Linked DNA regions of Homo sapiens: regions 1 and 2 are each linked to region 3. Evidence: promoter capture Hi-C in 16 types of primary human blood cells and fetal thymus (Javierre and others, 2016). All regions are on one chromosome and are shown on one strand. Each heading gives the region's core, a stretch centred on a gene start or on the middle of the fragment in contact. The rest is flanking DNA. Distances are from core to core; before and after follow the strand shown. Region 1 overlaps CRTAC1 (cartilage acidic protein 1). Region 2 overlaps CRTAC1 (cartilage acidic protein 1). Region 3 holds the start of SFRP5 (secreted frizzled related protein 5).

The links. The method cuts DNA at HindIII sites, captures the fragments that hold promoters and counts their contacts. A CHiCAGO score of 5 or more calls a contact.
Region 1: a contact is called between a fragment that was not itself captured here and the fragment with the promoter of SFRP5 in region 3, in 2 of 17 cell types (M1 macrophages and M2 macrophages). The highest score is 5.3, in M1 macrophages.
Region 2: a fragment that was not itself captured here is called in contact with the fragment with the promoter of SFRP5 in region 3 in 1 of 17 cell types (M1 macrophages); the score reaches 5.5 in M1 macrophages.

What each region holds. Positions count from the first base shown.
Region 1 is chr10:97,899,252-97,902,875 of GRCh38, reverse strand. It overlaps CRTAC1 (cartilage acidic protein 1), which reads left to right. Exons shown (of 15, transcript NM_018058.7): 8 at 1,237-1,373. Among named protein-coding and RNA genes, the nearest start is that of MIR3085, 25 kb to the right of the region's middle. The HindIII fragment of the contact is 3,442 bases long and covers 1-3,266 here.
Region 2 is chr10:98,010,175-98,013,768 of GRCh38, reverse strand. CRTAC1 (cartilage acidic protein 1) reads left to right here. Exons shown (of 15, transcript NM_018058.7): 2 at 2,432-2,631. Among named protein-coding and RNA genes, the nearest start is that of CRTAC1, 19 kb to the left of the region's middle. The HindIII fragment of the contact is 4,154 bases long and covers 1-3,594 here.
Region 3 is chr10:97,769,756-97,773,479 of GRCh38, reverse strand. It overlaps SFRP5 (secreted frizzled related protein 5), which reads left to right and starts at 1,481. Exons shown (of 3, transcript NM_003015.3): 1 at 1,481-2,175. The coding sequence starts at 1,647. The HindIII fragment of the contact is 8,141 bases long and covers 821-3,724 here.

The DNA of each region.
Region 1 (3,624 bases), core at 296-2,795, 130 kb before region 3:
TCAACCTCATTACTCCTCTGATGGAGACAGCCTCTTTCCCTGGCCTCCCCAGAGCAGGCAGCTCGACCGCTGACCCAGCCTGCTCATCCCTGTGGCTGCCAAAGAGGGTCTGCAGCAGGAGGCCGAGAGCAGGCCCAAGTCGGGTAGAGGATGCTCCCAGAGACACCACCTGTACCTTTCTCAGCCCTCTCCACGTGGGCCCTGGGACTTAGACATGTCCCCAAGGTCTTTAGGGGAAAAACCCACCTATGATGAGGATATTACGCTCAGAAATAGAAGATTGCCCTTCCCAGCTCTCCTTCTATTTCAGAGGCAGAAACACACCTGGGACCCTTTGCCTGGTCCCCCAAGGCCCTCCCAGTACTTTGGAGTCCCAGCTGGGCTATCCTGGGCCTGGGGTCTCCCCATTAGTCCTGGACAGGTGTAGCTGATACCGCAACCCCCTCAAAGCAAATGTCTCAAAAAATAAAAATAAAAAGACTCCCAAGAAACAACGTAAGGTAGTAGAGGCAGCCAAATCCACAGCTACAGGTAACCTCTTTCACCTTCCCTGAGGCAGGTGGTGGGTAAGGCAGGACAGGCTGCCAGCGAGCTATGTCATGCCCACTCTGTGCCAGGCATTTTACATGCAATCCTCACAACCCAGGCAGCTATTACTATTCCCACATTACTGATGGGGAAGGTGAGATCCAAGGGGGTTAGTAACTTGCCTAAGATCACACAGCTAGTCAGTGGTGGAGCCTGGATTTAGATGCACAGAGATTTCCGGTGCCCACCCAGCTTCTGACTCAGCACAGAGGAGGAAGGGTGCCTAGGAGAAAGGGCACAGAGTCCGGAATCAGAAGCCCTGGCCTCCCCACTCAGTAGCTGTGACATCGCAGTTCCCCTCCTTCTCCAGGACTCAGTTACCTCACCCGTCAAATGGGAAGGCTAATGTCTGTACTGCCTCAAGGGATGGACAGAAGGGATGGACAGGTGTGATCCAGACTAGGGATCGGCTAAGCACTTCACTGGTGTCTAGCACGACTGTTATTCTTCCCTCCTTCTTCTCGTACAAGCAGCCTGAGGTCTGTGTGGTCCTAAAGGCAGCCCCCAGGTCCTTTGCGGGAGGCAGGAGAGGAGCTTTTGGGTTGGACTGTCTCTTATTTTTAATTGCCCCCACACTCCATAGAGGAGAGCTGGCCTCCCGCCCCAGCCCACTCTCCTGCCACTGACCCCCAGCCTTGTTTCCTCCAGGACATCGCCTCACCCAAGTTCTCCATGCCCTCCCCTGTCCGCACGGTCATCACCGCCGACTTTGACAATGACCAGGAGCTGGAGATCTTCTTCAACAACATTGCCTACCGCAGCTCCTCAGCCAACCGCCTCTTCCGGTAGATGCTCCATCCTGGCTCGTGGCTCTTCATCCTTGACAGCTGGTGGGAGGAACGGTCAGGGAGAAGGTTTAAGAATCAGAAGGGGAGGGTTCCCAGGGCCAGGGGGTCAGGCCAAGGTCAACACAGGTCCCCTGATGAAGAAACAGAAAGGAAGGAAGGACGAGGACTGGGCAAGAGGCTGTGGGAATGCAGGGCAAAGCCTGGCCAAGGAGCCGGCCTCTGCTATTGCAGGGAAAGGGAAGGGAAATGTGGCCCAAAGTGTGCCCAGAACCCAAGCGCCACAAGATACAAAGCCACACTACCACAAAAAGGGGCTACAGGGTCCAATCACTACCAGGAAAAGGGGCTACGGGGTCCAATCACTACCAGGAAAAGGGGCTACGGGGTCCAATCACTACCAGGAAAAGGGGCTACGGGGTCCAATCACTACCAGGAAAAGGGGCTACGGGGTCCAATCACTACCAGGAAAAGGGGCTACGGGCTCCAATCACTACCAGGAAAAGGGGCTACAGGGTCCAATCACTACCAGGAAAAGGGGCTACGGGCTCCAATCACTACCAGGAAAAGGGGCTACAGGGTCCAATCACTACCACAGAAAGGGGCTACGGGCTCCAATCACTACCAGGAAAAGGGGCTACGGGGTCCAATCACTACCAGGAAAAGGGGCTACAGGGTCCAATCACTACCAGGAAAAGGGGCTACGGGGTCCAATCACTACCAGGAAAAGGGGCTACGGGCTCCAATCACTACCAGGAAAAGGGGCTACGGGGTCCAATCACTACCAGGAAAAGGGGCTACAGGGTCCAATCACTACCAGGAAAAGGGGCTACAGGGTCCAATCACTACCACAGAAAGGGGCTACGGGCTCCAATCACTACCAGGAAAAGGGGCTACGGGGTCCAATCACTACCAGGAAAAGGGGCTACGGGCTCCAATCACTACCAGGAAAAGAGGCTATGGGGTCCAATCACTACCAGGAAAAGGGGCTACGGGCTCCAATCACTACCAGGAAAAGGGGCTATGGGGTCCAATCACTACCACAGAAAGGGGCTACGGGGTCCAAGTAAATACAGGTTTATTTACTGCAGGACTTCTCAGCGCCTTTAACTTGACCATAAATATTTTAATTTTCCAAAAGATGGATGGAGTATTCCAAATAGGCCAGATCACAGGGCACTTCTTCCACAGATTTTTCTGTTGAGACTGGTGTTCTGCAAACCATCCTTTGGGAAATTCTGGATGACAAGGGTTCCTGGTAGACAAGGAAAAGGGTTTCAGAAATGGAGGGAATGTGCAGGCCTCTGAGCAGTGTGTCTAGGGAGGAAGGGCTGGATTTGCTGCGGCAATATTTCTCCAAGGGGACGTCCAGAGACCATTGGCATCAGAATCACCCAGAGTGCTTAAAGTACAGAATCCCGGGACCTACCCCACAGCCCCTGACTTAGAATCTCAGGGGGTGAGGCCCAGGAATCTGTATTTTAACAAGTACAGTAGGCACCAGGTGATTCTCATCACACTGAAGTTTGAGAACCACTGTTGGGGAACTGAGCTCAGGGTCTCCCCATGAGTCCTGGATAGGTGGAGTCCTGGACAGGCATGTGGCCTGAGATGTCCCTGTTCCTGGCTTAAAACATTCCAATGGGGCTCAGGACCAGGTGGGGAAAGGAGGGTGTGCCAGGGCCTTGGATCCAGGACATGGGCCAGATCACTGGCTCGGCCCCCCAAGACCCCTACCCCATCTCCCGGGAGGGCCCAACTATTTATACTAAAAGGCATGAGTGTGACTAAGCGTGTTTTAAAATATAATTATTAACAAAGCATCAATCCTGACTGGATGTAATCACCCCCTGAAGGCGCTAGATTTACTAATTAGGTGCCTTGCGAAAAGCTTATTCACAACTTCCAGATAAATTGCAGAAGATCAATTGCTAGTTAACAGAGACACTGCTTTCCTTCTCTGGCTAATAAAGTGTCACTCGCCAGGAGGACGAGGCCTGAGCACTGAGGAATCTAGTGCTCCTGTCTCTGTGGCCCGAGAACCTAGTCTCTGTCTGCCTGCCCATCCTGCCCATCCAGCCTGCTTCAAATCTCCCAGCGTCCCCTGCAGCGGGGAGAAAGGGCTGGGTGGAAGGACAAGGCAGGCTGGCCCAGAGCTGTCAATGGACAGAGCAAGTCACCACGTGGCTGCCCAATGGGTTAGTGTGTTTGCCTCCACACAGCAGCAGCAGAAGCCACTTCCCAGGTACGT
Region 2 (3,594 bases), core at 796-3,295, 240 kb before region 3:
AAAGGAAAACCACATGGGTTGGCCTGAAGTTTATAGAAGCAGCTTAGGAGGGAAAAAACTGTTGAAGGTCTGCATCCAAAAAACAAAATCTTTTAATTCATCATAGAATTTTAGAGCCAGAAAGGACCTTTAGAGAACTCCAAACCTTTATTTTGGAGAAGAAAGCTGAGACCCAAAGAGGTTGTGACTTGTTTTAAGGTCACCCAAGCAAAATAGAGGTCAGCCAATGGGTGCATTATTTCTTTCTCATCTTGCTTTAGGTTATTTATCTGGAAACGGATAACACAGCAGCTACTTCTTTCGTATGTCTTCTTTAATTAAAAGAAAAGGTAAAACTAAAGAGGCTAGATCATAATTCTTGACTCTTAGGGCCTTCACTGGAAAGGTTCTAATGATTAGAACTTTTAGGCTCATATTACCTGAATGGGGCCAGCCTCCCTGGTGGCCGTGACCCAAATTGCAGATGTGGTGCCTGGGAGGAACTAACTAGCTTCGAAAAGACATGTTAGATGCCACTTTTCTCTTCCATGCCCATTGCTGATGTTGTAAGCTGATCACAGCACTCTTTCCAGCCACTGCCAGTCAATTGGATTTGGCCCTCAAATTGAAACTCCTTTGCCATTCACTACAATAGAGGTCATCCCTTGAAAAGTCCAATGACCTTCAGATCCATGCTACATTTCGGCATGTCGACACTGGTTATTAAATACTCTTTAGTTTCCCATTTCCTCCCCCATCCCCACCCAGCTGCTCATTAATCCAATTATGAGTTTCCTTTATCCAATCAAAGTTCCTGCCAAGTTGCAGAGCTCTTGTAGTGATTCATGATGCATTTGTCTTTAGTGATTAGAAAACCCAGTAGAAGATGCTGTCTCATTCAGACATCTCTGTAATTTGGAATGACCTCAGTTTGGTAGTGCCACACCCCACATGTGCCCTGTGAACACACTACAAGAACCTCCTTCCCAGTTTCTGCCCTGCAATTGGAGCCTTGCCCCTGTGTCACTCCCCAGCCTCTCCAGCAAGGCATTCAGGAGGCTCCTGAATCACGTCTGGCTCTGAAGGCAGTGCCCAGCCCCTTCATTTTGGTCTCTGGGTCCTTGAACAGCAAGCTCATTTGCCGGCAGGAGCATCTGTCTCCATATGGGGAGACAGTCTTCAGATCTTCCTTGCTCTTCCCTTCATTAAGACATCAGCCTCAGTCAGCCTTGCCTTGGCTGCCAGATGCACTGACAAGCCAGCAGGAAAAGTTCCATCTAGAAGAGGTCTGCTACCTTCTGAAGGCAGGAAAGTACCGCTTTGCCTGCTGGGACTAGACCCATGCAGCCTTTGTGGACCTCCTTCCAGCAGAGCCTTTAAAACATTTCATGAGTGCTGATTCTAGGCCTGCAGGTAGAGTCTCAGGGTGGTGCCATCTGCAGCGTTCCAAGTGTCTCCCTTGCTTTCACTCAAGGGGGGTGGAATCCCTCCACCTCCTTGGCCATTTTCATCTGTCTCCTGGGTGTGTGCCACAGGCTCCCATGGCCCCAGGCTACTTGGCAACACCCTGAGTTATGTTAGAGATATAATAATGAATTATACAATGCATTATACATAATTAATTTATAATAAAACACGCACGCAATGGTTTAATTTCTCCAAGTGAATGATGTGCTATCCGCCAGATCCTGCTGGAACGCCTCCCCTAACTGACTGCTTCTTGGTCTGGAGGTGATGGCCAGCTGCCCTAGGGAGGGATGTTGGCATGAGGAACCTGCCAAGTCACATATTCCCCCTGGCTACCTCTGGAGTATGTACCACAGGAGAACAGTCTTTCATTGCATCTATTATTGTTCTAGATCTGGATACTCATGAGGGTCTCACCCAAACTCTGCATTGTTTGAGAGCTGTTAGGTTCTTCATTCGCCCAGTCTTTCTCCCAGAGTATGGGAAATGCCTTTGTATTTATACCTTTCCCTCCCCATCTCCCTCCCTTCCTCCCTCCTTTCCTTCCTTCCACAAATATGAAATAAATGAAGGAAAGAAGTGCCTATTATGTGAACTACCTTTGGCTTGCTGCATATCAGTGAATAAAACAGAGATCCTTGCCCAAGTGGAGCTTACACTCTAGCAGAGGGAGGCACACAATAAATAATAAGTGTAATCATAAGTAAATTATACCAAACATCACACAATGATAGATGCTGTAGAAAAAGAAAAAGCAGAGCAGGCTAAGGGCGATCAGCCATGATGGAGTCAGGTTGCAGTTTCAATGAGGGTGGGGAGGGCAAGGGAGGGGAGGGCAGGGCTTGTGGAAAGCCAGCAGCCTAGGCACTGTCAAGCTCTCCATGAATGGGAGAGAAAGGCACTCTGGGCCTACCCAGGACTTTAATGTTCCGGGATTGCTTTGGTTACAGGTTCTTTCGGTAACATTTGTCACTTTTGGTTTCAGATGTCCAGGATGTTACCGTTCCTGCTGCTGCTCTGGTTTCTGCCCATCACTGAGGGGTCCCAGCGGGCTGAACCCATGTTCACTGCAGTCACCAACTCAGTTCTGCCTCCTGACTATGACAGTAATCCCACCCAGCTCAACTATGGTGTGGCAGTTACTGATGTGGACCATGATGGGGACTTTGAGATCGTCGTGGCGGGGTAAGTGCCTCCCACCCTCAGTGTGACAGATATTAATCAGATTTTGCTGTAATAAGGCTGTGTAACAACTCCAAACCCCAGTGACTTGCAACAACATACGTTCTCACTCATAGGTCTGTGGTTGTCTGTGGCTCAGCTGCAGCTTGGCTGGGCTCAGCTGGGGTTCTGGGGTGCTGTGACCTTGTCTTTTGCTACTGCAGTGGGTCAGGATGGAAGGAAGTTTGGAAGAAGGGTGTTTGATCCACAGGCTTTTCAGGGAGAAAACTGGAATGCTCTGCTTTAAGGCACTGTCTTCTCTTCATATTTAAGCCAACTTGATTATGCAGATATTACTTCTTTACCAGTGGGGCTCTAGGATCTCTATACAGGAAGGGCTTAAGGGTGACAATTATGGTAGAAGGGTATGCTCAAAGCTGCCTTTGCACAGCACTTTACATAAGACTAAGAAAACATTAATTAACCGTTTCAAAGAGGGGGGAAGATGGAAATTAAGAGGGTTAGCTAAACCTCCGCTGAGCATGCCTTGTTGCCCACGGCTCCTTTCTCTCCTGAAAACCAACATTGGGTTGCAAAAAAAGCATAAGACTAGGAATCCAAATAGCCTGAGTTCATGCCCTAAGGTGTAAACGTTCCAGTTTTATGTCCTTGAGTCTCTTACTCACTGACATTCAGAGATATCATCTGTAAAAAGGGGAATAACTGTAATGGCTTGTTGTCTTGAAGCCTTCCTAGGCTATTGTGTGTGACAGTGCATTGTAAATTTCTGCCAATCACCATTGATAATTATTATGCATTGAGGGCCGGGTGCAGTGGCTCACGCCTGTAATCCCAGCACTTTAGGAGGCCGAGATGGGTGAATCACTTGAGGTCAGGAGTTCAAGACCAGCCTGGCCAACATGGTGAAACCCCGTCTCTACTAAAAATACAAAAATTAGCTGGGCATGGTGGCGCGCGCATGTAATC
Region 3 (3,724 bases), core at 232-2,731:
TGCAAGGACAGACCCAGAGGAAGACAGGAGCCCTGGAAACATCCATTAGTGGGACTAAGGGGAGGAGCAGAGGGGGAAAGTGCCCAGTACTCCTGCCTTCCAGCAGAGCCAGCCCCCAGCTCCCCACGCCCTCCTAGGAGACACCTCCCCAAGGTACCCTCCCCACCAAAGACTGGGAGGTCAGGTGTCAGGCTAGGCTCTCAGGAAGGAATTCCCCTCCCTTCAAGCCTCCAGTCCAAATTCCTCTCAAGGGAGAGCCAATGAAAGGCAGGACTCAGACAGGAGAGAAAGACACCAAGCATGGGGCTCCTGAAGGTCCCCTCCCCTCTGATGCTTGCCTGGGTGCCCTGCTCAGACACACCATCAATTCCCCCTCTTCCCACTGTGTTCCCTACCATGGGTTGGAAGTTATCTTACCACAGAGTGGTTAAGCCCTGGCCTTTGTAGCCCAACATCTGGATTCAAATCCTAGCTCCTTCACATATGAGCTGTGTGGCCAAGGGCCAGTTACTCCACTTCTCTGAACTCCCTATCCCCTTGGTCATTAGGCCTACAGACTCAGAATCCAGGCCTCCTGGTTGTTTCTGGGCTCTGACTCTCGAAAAAGACTATCTGGGTTCAAATCCCAGCTCTAATCTGTGCTTAACCTCTCTGCCGCAGGATCTTTATCTGTAAGGTGGGGACAATAATAGTACCTACCCACCATCTAGCCTTATTGTGAGAATTAGCTGAGGGAGTTTATGCAATGTGCTCAGATCAGACTTGGCACACAATTAGCACCCACTAAGTATTGGCTATCATTAGCAATAGCTGATAAGCTTGGAACGTACCTTGCACCGCACCTTGCACCGCACCTTGCACCTTGCACCGTCCCTGGCAGGTAGTAAGAGCTCACTAAATAGAAGCTATGATTACCTTCACCCCCACTAGACTATCCTGGCCCTGGAGGTGGGTTCTGGGTCATATCCATCTTTGATTCCCCAGCAGCCAGCATGGGGCCTGGCACCAAGCTCAATGAAGACCTGCCAGGAGGACCAGAAGATCCAGGGTGTGGGGTGGCACGAGCCTCCCACCAGGGAGAAGAGGAACCGAGGTGTCGGGGAAGAGAAAACAGAGCAGAGGGAGAAAAGCCAAGGCAGAGAGATAAGCAAGTGAAGTGAGTGAGAAAAGGAACAGGAGAGGCTGTGGCGGAGAGAGATAAGGAGGAAGGATGGAGAAGGCGAGGGTCGAGGAAAATGCCCAGGGAGGCAGGGAGCCCTGGGGAGAAACGCTGGGCGAGGCCAGGGCTGCGGCAGGGGAGCCGAGCCGGGAGAGGGGCGCAAGACCTGGCGCTGGGCGGGACGCTCGGGCAGGGTGCGGGAGGGGCTGAGGGCCGCCCCCACTGCCTCCCCGCCTTGGAGCTGGGGCCAGGCGGCCGGAGATTGGCTGGGGCGCACGGCGAGGCCCGGGCTGGAGCCCCGAGGTGGGAGGCGCCAGGATCAGTCGGGGCGCCCGCAGCGCAGGCTGCCACCCACCTGGGCGACCTCCGCGGCGGCGGCGGCGGCGGCTGGGTAGAGTCAGGGCCGGGGGCGCACGCCGGAACACCTGGGCCGCCGGGCACCGAGCGTCGGGGGGCTGCGCGGCGCGCACCTGGAGAGGGCGCAGCCATGCGGGCGGCGGCGGCGGGGGGGGGCGTGCGGACGGCCGCGCTGGCGCTGCTGCTGGGGGCGCTGCACTGGGCGCCGGCGCGCTGCGAGGAGTACGACTACTATGGCTGGCAGGCCGAGCCGCTGCACGGCCGCTCCTACTCCAAGCCGCCGCAGTGCCTTGACATCCCTGCCGACCTGCCGCTCTGCCACACGGTGGGCTACAAGCGCATGCGGCTGCCCAACCTGCTGGAGCACGAGAGCCTGGCCGAAGTGAAGCAGCAGGCGAGCAGCTGGCTGCCGCTGCTGGCCAAGCGCTGCCACTCGGATACGCAGGTCTTCCTGTGCTCGCTCTTTGCGCCCGTCTGTCTCGACCGGCCCATCTACCCGTGCCGCTCGCTGTGCGAGGCCGTGCGCGCCGGCTGCGCGCCGCTCATGGAGGCCTACGGCTTCCCCTGGCCTGAGATGCTGCACTGCCACAAGTTCCCCCTGGACAACGACCTCTGCATCGCCGTGCAGTTCGGGCACCTGCCCGCCACCGCGCCTCCAGGTAGCGCCGCCGCCGCCGTCCCCGCGCGCTCCGACGGCCCTGCAGCTCCCCTAGCACAGCTCTGCGAACCCCCCAAGAGGTGCAGCTCCCCCCCTCCGCCCACACACACACACACACGCTGTCCTAGCTCAGCCCAGCGTCCCCGGAATTATCCCCCGCAGCCTTCCCGCCTTCCCACCTCCCCAGGGAGTGGCAGCATAGTGCCTCCCGGCGGCTCCAGACCTTCCCTCTGGCTCTCGTTCCCTGGAAACCCCTGGCACCCCTCTCAGTACCCATCCAACCAAGCTGCTGAGAATCCCCCAATGCCGTCCCCCCAATCCTGGGACGTCCTGATAAATGCCTTATGACCCCTCTCAGCCCAAGAATGCCTGGGGTCGTTAAACAATGCCTTTCACCTGGATCCCGAGGCACCAAAGCAAGCATCATCCCCACTCCGTGTTGGGACCTTGGGAAGAGAGGAGAGGTGAGGGAAGGGATGTGGAGAAAGACTGGGGACTAAGAATGTTCTGGACTATGATCTGCGTCCCCGTTTTCTGTACCTGGAACCCTAAGATCTCCACCCTCTTCCCCAGTTCCCCTGGCTGGGAGTCATTCGGGTAAGGCTCAGTGCGGAAGGAAGAGCAGATTAGGCTCTGCCCCTGAAGAGAAGCCCTTAGGCAAGTTGCTTGACTTCACTGAGCCTCAGTTTCCCCATCCATAAAATAGGAAGCCATCCCAGGCTCATGAAACCTATGAGGTCCTAAGTCCCTCCTCCCACCCACCCCTCAGTCCCCTGAACCCTAATTTCTCCCTGGTCTCAGCCTCCCCTTTTCTGTGCTGGTCCACATAGCTCTTCCAGGCTGGCTCCATGCCCTCTCCCCCTTCCTCCCCGTCTGCTGTCAGACTTGAGTAACCGCTCTGGGCCTCGGTTCCCTTTTCTCCAAAATAGGAGTAAGGGCTGGGCGCAGTGGTTCACACTTGTAATCCCAGCACTTTGGGAGGCCAAGGTGGGTGAATCACTTGAGGTCAGGAGTTCTAGACCAGCCTGGCCAACATGGTGAAACCCCGTCTCTACTGAAAATACAAAAATTAGCCGAGCGTGGTGGCACACGCCTGTAATCTCAGCTACTCGGGAGGCTGAGACAGAAGAATCGCTTAAACCTGGGAGGCAGAGGTTGCAGTAAGCTGAGATTAGAGAGCCACTGCACTCCAGCCTGGGTGACAGAGCGAGACTACATCTCAAAAATAAAATAGGAATAAGAATCCCTATTTCATAGGCTGAGGATGAGAGGAGATAAAATTTAAAAGACAATGCACATCATGGCTGCAGCCGCCAGGGTCATGGGGCAGTCACTGTGCCCACCTGGCAGTTTTGTCACTGCACAGCCTGTCTGGTGATTGTCAATCACTCTGTGAGCAGGTAGTGATATGATTGCCATCATCCCATCTCCTGATAAGGAAGTAGAGGCTTGGCAAGGGGAAGTGGCTGGTCAGTGAGGAAGCCTGCACCCCAAGTGGCTCTTGGAACTCCAATCCCCTCACCAACTGTCCCCCAACCCCACCCCACTTT